Regions from separate parts of the Homo sapiens genome. Here region 1 is linked to region 2. The links are contacts of gene promoters, found by promoter capture Hi-C in blood cells and fetal thymus (Javierre and others, 2016). All regions are on one chromosome and are shown on one strand. The core of a region is centred on a gene start or on the middle of the fragment in contact, and the rest is flanking DNA. Distances in the headings are between cores, read along the strand shown.

Evidence for each region. Contacts are between HindIII fragments. The CHiCAGO score rates a contact against its expected background, and 5 or more counts as called.
Region 1: a fragment that was not itself captured here is called in contact with the fragment with the promoter of BPIFC in region 2 in 2 of 17 cell types (M0 macrophages and M1 macrophages); the score reaches 6.3 in M0 macrophages.

What each region holds. Positions count from the first base shown.
Region 1 is chr22:32,983,325-32,986,033 of GRCh38, forward strand. The region is part of intron 2 of SYN3 (synapsin III); the gene reads right to left. Among named protein-coding and RNA genes, the nearest start is that of SYN3, 74 kb to the right of the region's middle. The HindIII fragment of the contact is 633 bases long and covers 1,125-1,757 here.
Region 2 is chr22:32,462,891-32,465,811 of GRCh38, forward strand. BPIFC (BPI fold containing family C) reads right to left here and starts at 1,556. Exons shown (of 17, transcript NM_174932.3): 1 at 1,484-1,556. The HindIII fragment of the contact is 5,490 bases long and covers 1,281-2,921 here.

The sequences.
Region 1 (2,709 bases), core at 191-2,690, 520 kb after region 2:
TTAGTCTCCTACTCTTTTCCTTGGAAGATGGATGTCATCACCCATTATTTTTCAGCCTTCCATTTGTGAAAGAATCCTTTCTACAAATTCACTAACTGCTTCAGCCTGTCTGCTTCCAAAGTCTCTCTACCTACTCTTAGCTGATGCTGGTGGAGTTAATCTCTTCCCAAAACTGACTGACAGCTCTGATATTAGCACCACTTTTTCTTACGTCCTGATGGGCTTAGATGTCAACTAGGCGGTAGTTTAGTAGGAAAGGAACTATTAGTATGACTCGAAAGCAAGATTTTGATTTTTTTTTTCTTTCAGCAATGGTCTTCAAATAAATACCCATGTGGACAGCCTCATGCAAAGAGAATCTTTTCATACAGTTTGTGAATTTTATCGTAATCCTTAAAGGTAGTATCAGCAAATTCCAGACACCAGGACAAGCCCATGTCTAGTATTTGAAGTGCCTGGGGCAAAGCGACAAATGGAAACCTATGGGTCATATGTCTAATATTTAAAATTGACAAAATCAAGCCAGCAAACATTTAAATAAAAGACATCTGTCCACTGGGCATGGTGGCTCATGCCTGTAATCCCAGCACTTTGGGAGGCTGAGGCAGGCGGATCACGAGGTCAGGAGTTGGAGTCCAGACTGGCCAACATAGTGAAACCCCATCTCTACTAAAAATACAAACAATTAGCCAGGAGTGGTGGTGGGCGCCTGTAATTCCAGCTGAGGCAGGAGAGGCTGAGGCAGGAGAATCGCTTGAACCTGGGAGGCAGAAGTTGCAGTGAGCCAAGATTGCGCCATTGTACTCCAACCTGGGCGACAAGAATGAAACTCCATCCAAAAAAAAAAAAAAAAAAGAAAAAGAAAAAGAAAAGAAAAAAGAAAAAAAGAGTCCCAAAGAGTCTGTCTTCCTTCCTTGGCAGATACAATTTCATAATGACCTTAAAGACTCAGAATGTAAACTTCTCAGAATTCTTTGCACTCTACCCAGCACGTGGCAGCACAAGGATTGCCAGCTCTTGGTTCTCAGACCTCACCCAAGATCTTCCTTAATTCCCCACCCACTCTCCTCTGCACCACTGAGGCTCCTGGTGCGGGTATGTGGATTGCCCAGACCACGTGGCCAAGCTTCATCTACTCCCTTCCCCTCCCCAAATGGTTGTCCTTTGGCCACCCCTTGGAAAATGGACCAAGGAATTGGCCTATATAGGCTCTGAAGTTGGGTTAAGGTCCCTTTGAGGAGGGAATTCTAGAGTTTGGGTACCCAGGGCATGGCCTAAGAGTGCAATTTGTAGGGTCTTGGTGGGAATATCCCCTCACTCCTAACTCCTCTGCCTGTCAAGAGAGGTGTGGCTAATAAGGACCAGAGCAGGATCCAAGGTAGGCATCTTTCGTGGATTTAAAAATCACTTGCTTTTAAATCCAAGCTCCAAATTTAAAAGAAGTACTGGGTGGGCCTGGGACCGGGAATGGTAACCTATCATTACAATCACCAGCATACTGGGAAAAAAAACATGGATTTGCAATCACACAGGCTTGGGCAAAATCTTAGCTCTACTACTCACTGACCATGTGTTCTAAGACAAGACACTTAGCCCTCTGGGTCTCAGTTTCCTCATTTGTCAAGTGGTGACAGTAACTACCAGGGAAGGGTGTGGTGAGAAAGTCACATAATCCTCTATGCAACAAGGCAGTAAAGTGCAATGGCTTCAGGGCATACAGCCTGGATAGGACCCCAACTCCTCCACTCACTTGTGCAAGCTTGGGTAAGCCAACCTCTGAATGCCTTAGTTTCCACACCTAGGAAATGAGGCTCATAGTAGTAGCCACCTCACAGGGTTGTTATGAGGATTAAATGAAACAAGGCATACAAAGCACTGAGAATAGTTCCTGGCACACAGTAAGCTGCAAAGTATGTAGTCCATGGCCTGAAACAGAATCCACAAGAGCAAAGAGCTATCGAGTGCTTACCCTGTGCCTAGTGGGTGCTGTGTGCTGGGGACCCACAAATAAACAAAACAATCTTACCCTCTTGGGGGTTCCAAAGCAGAATTATGACTCACCTTGCTTTGATCTGTCTCACAGGTGCAAGGAGTGATGGCTGGTGATGGGGAAAAGAGGTGGCCTTGGCCTATAAGGACAGCCAGACCCTTCACATCCTTCCTCCTATTTGACCCTCATGCCAACCCTGAGGGGTGGTAGGGCAGGGATTGCTCCCAACGTGTTCCAGATGGAGAAGTCTCTGCTCAAAGTCACACGAGTGATCTGGGTACCCAAACTCTAGAGGGAAGAATTTGGGTACCTTTCCTGGAGACCCTAAGTGGTCTTTCAGACTTTTTGGATCCAGTCCAGAGCCCTGGCGTCCTTCATGATCTGGACCCTGCTGACTGGGGGTCTGCTTCCCCTCCAGTTTGCTGTCTATTTCATGGTTGCATCCAAATTCCTGTGCTTCTCTAAATACTCCTGTGCTGTCCTGCCTCTGAACCTCTGCACAGGCCTTCACCTCTGCTTGGCACTTCCTTGATTGTCTCTTTCTCATGTTTCAAGATCCTATGAGTGATATCTACTCTGCTGAGTTTTCCTTGACAGCACCCCCTTCCCTAGCTGGGCTGAGCGTCCTCCCTTGGTTCCTACAGCACGCTGCACTTACAACCATTCCAGCCCTTACCACTTCACGTTGTCATTACACATCACTTAGCTGCCCTCTGCCC
Region 2 (2,921 bases), core at 306-2,805:
GAAAACCAAACACCATTTTCAAGGTGGAAAAATTCAATAAGCATCTAGAAACGTTCAAGCATCACAGTGCAAATCCCTTCTTATTTTCTTGGACACAACTGGAGTTTTAAATTCCCTGCCAGCAGTAAAACCTGTTTTCCCTTCTTGGTTAAAAAAAGTTTCTGAAGTGGTACACTTTGATGGAGATCCAGGAATCCAAAATTACAGGCAGGAAAACATATTTTTCCTCTAGAAATTTTATGAGTGAAAGAAATTACTGGGGTATGAAGGGGTGAATTGTACATAACTTTTCATTGAATTGTTCAGTTACGATGATAACTTATGGGCAGGGGAGGAAAGGAACCTTGTCAAGCAAGGTGATGACTACTAAAAGGTTAAGTAATTTGGCTGACAAGTGCAGGCAGGGCTAGTTGCCTGTTAAAAGGATCCAAGATCACTTAAAAACCCCACCAGCAAGTTATCTATTTTGTTGCTTCTGGGGAATTGCTTCTTTCCAAGATTCAAAATCTCAGTAGTCATTATTTTTCCATACAAATACACAGACAGAATAATACTCCTAAATTAAATGGTCCTTGTGTGAGTCATCCTGACAGCTAAGAAAATGCCAGTCCAATTTAGAAAACACCTGAAACTCACAGATGGTCCTACTACTACTGCTGCTTGGCAAGAGCTTTGACTGACTCTGGAAAAACCGATTAAGGGAGTAATGAATGAGTAAAATGTAGCCTTCAAAACAGAGGCGCAGGTTGAAAAATTAAGTTCAACAGGTTTAAAGAAGTCTAAACTAGAAGGGTATTCCGACATATTGGTTAAGACAAAATGACCGTACATAAGAAGTCTAAATCGACAGGTATGGAACGTGGGCAGAATATTTCAAGGGATCCACTCCTCACATCTAGTTTTATAGCAACATCTCTAATGACAAGGACCTTGAGAATTCATAGCATGTCTTTTCCCCAAAACTCTATGCCTAACACCAACAAGTTCAACAGTCCAGGCAAGTGGGTGGCTAGTTTTGCTCTGGCAGGATCTAGGTCACTGATGTGCTTTAAGACCTGCCTTGAAAGCACAGAGATTATAACAACTCCTTAGTCCTAACCATGCTGATTTTGAGAGACAAGATAGAATTTTCTGCCACTGTGCTGGGTTCCCCTCTGAAATGGAGGCAAAAATAAGTCCAGATCACTGAGCAACCCTCTTAACATTGTTCCATGATGCAAAACTAAGTAGGTGGTTTAAACCAACTCTTTTCTCTCTTATGGCTGTTTAGCTGTCACTAAAGCTTTTGCCTAAGAAGCCTCCAGGTGCGCATATGTGACATCACACAAACAAACAAACAAAGATACAGAAAAATCTAGGCAGACAATAATAATAACCCAGGATATATGACAGCTGCCTGTTCAAAGTGTCCTACCAAATCTGGGACATCTCCAGTTTGGAGATCATGGCTGGCAGAGACCTGAAGTTTGTTCATGAGTCTTACCTCAAGCAGAGGAAGTGTCCAAAGCTGGAGAGCACCTTCGATTCTCTCTGCCTTTGAAGCTGATGTGTTCTCCACCTTGCGCCTTAAACTCAGCTGCTAAAAAGCCAAGATAATTAAGTCTGACTCATCTCAGTGGTGAATTTTTTTAATGCCTCTTTCAAAATGTGATACATAATTGCTTCACTACAATTACCCAATGGCATGAATGAGCACTACAGTATCTACCTAGATAAACAGACAGTGCCACCTATGCAATAATTATCTTCCTGCAAAACACACACACACACACACACACACACACACACACACCACTTGTGAAATTGTGATGGCTACTTTACCAAAATGATTGAAAACGGTGTTAAACTGCATTGGAAGAGGAAGAATTTTCCTGTCTGGAATCATAAGCTGGTTCCTTCTGGTCAGGGTGCCTGCGGTGGATGGCTCTACTACTGCCCAGAATACCTTTGGGACTTGTGGTGGATCATCAGATTCAGTCTGAAAGCATGAGGCTTGACAATCGGGCTGACCTAGTTACCTTATCACTCAGGGTAGGACCTCAGTTGGCATCTCTCAGTGTCCGTCCGCTCCTTTTCAGAATGTTATTAATGACTTACTGTTCCAGCATTCCTTAAACCTAAGTTGGGTGGGTGGGTTCATCAACTATTATGCAACTTAACATTTTCAGATTCCAAACTCCAGCCCTACTCTCATCTCCAATAAATTCATTTTAGTTAATGTGTTTTATCTATTTTTATTTTTATTTATTTATTTTTTGAGATGGAGTCTCACTCTGTCACCCAGGCTGGAGTGCAGTGGAGCGATCTTGGCTCACTGCAACCTCCGCCCCCTGGGTTCAAACAATTCTCCTGCCTCAGCCTCCCTAGTAGCTGGGATTACAGGAGTGCGCTACCACGCCCAGCTAATTTTTTGTATTTTTAGTACAGACAGGGTTTCGCTGCATTGGCCAGGCTGGTCTCGAACTCCTGACCTCATGTGATTGATCCACCCGTGTTGGCTTCATAAGTGCTGGGATTACAGATGTGAGCCATCATACCCGGCCATTAATGTATTTTAGATGGCCAGGGATTTGATTGTATGAAGTTTTTTTTTTTGTTTTTTGGTTTTTTTTTTTTTGAGACAGTCTCACTGTCACCCAGGCTGGAGTGCAGTGGCATGATCTTGGCTCACTACAACCTCTGCCTCCAGGGTTTAAGCGATTCTTGTGCCTTAGCCCTCTGAGTAGCTGGAATTACAGGTGTGCACCACCAAACTTGGCTAATTTTTGTATTTTTAGTAGTGATGGGGTTTCACCATGTTGGCCAGGCTGGTCTTGAACTCTTGACCTCAAGTGATCCACCTGCCTTGGCCTCCCAAAGTCCTGGGATTACAGGCATGATCCACCGCACCCAGCCTGATTGCATGAAGTTCTTATGGCTTA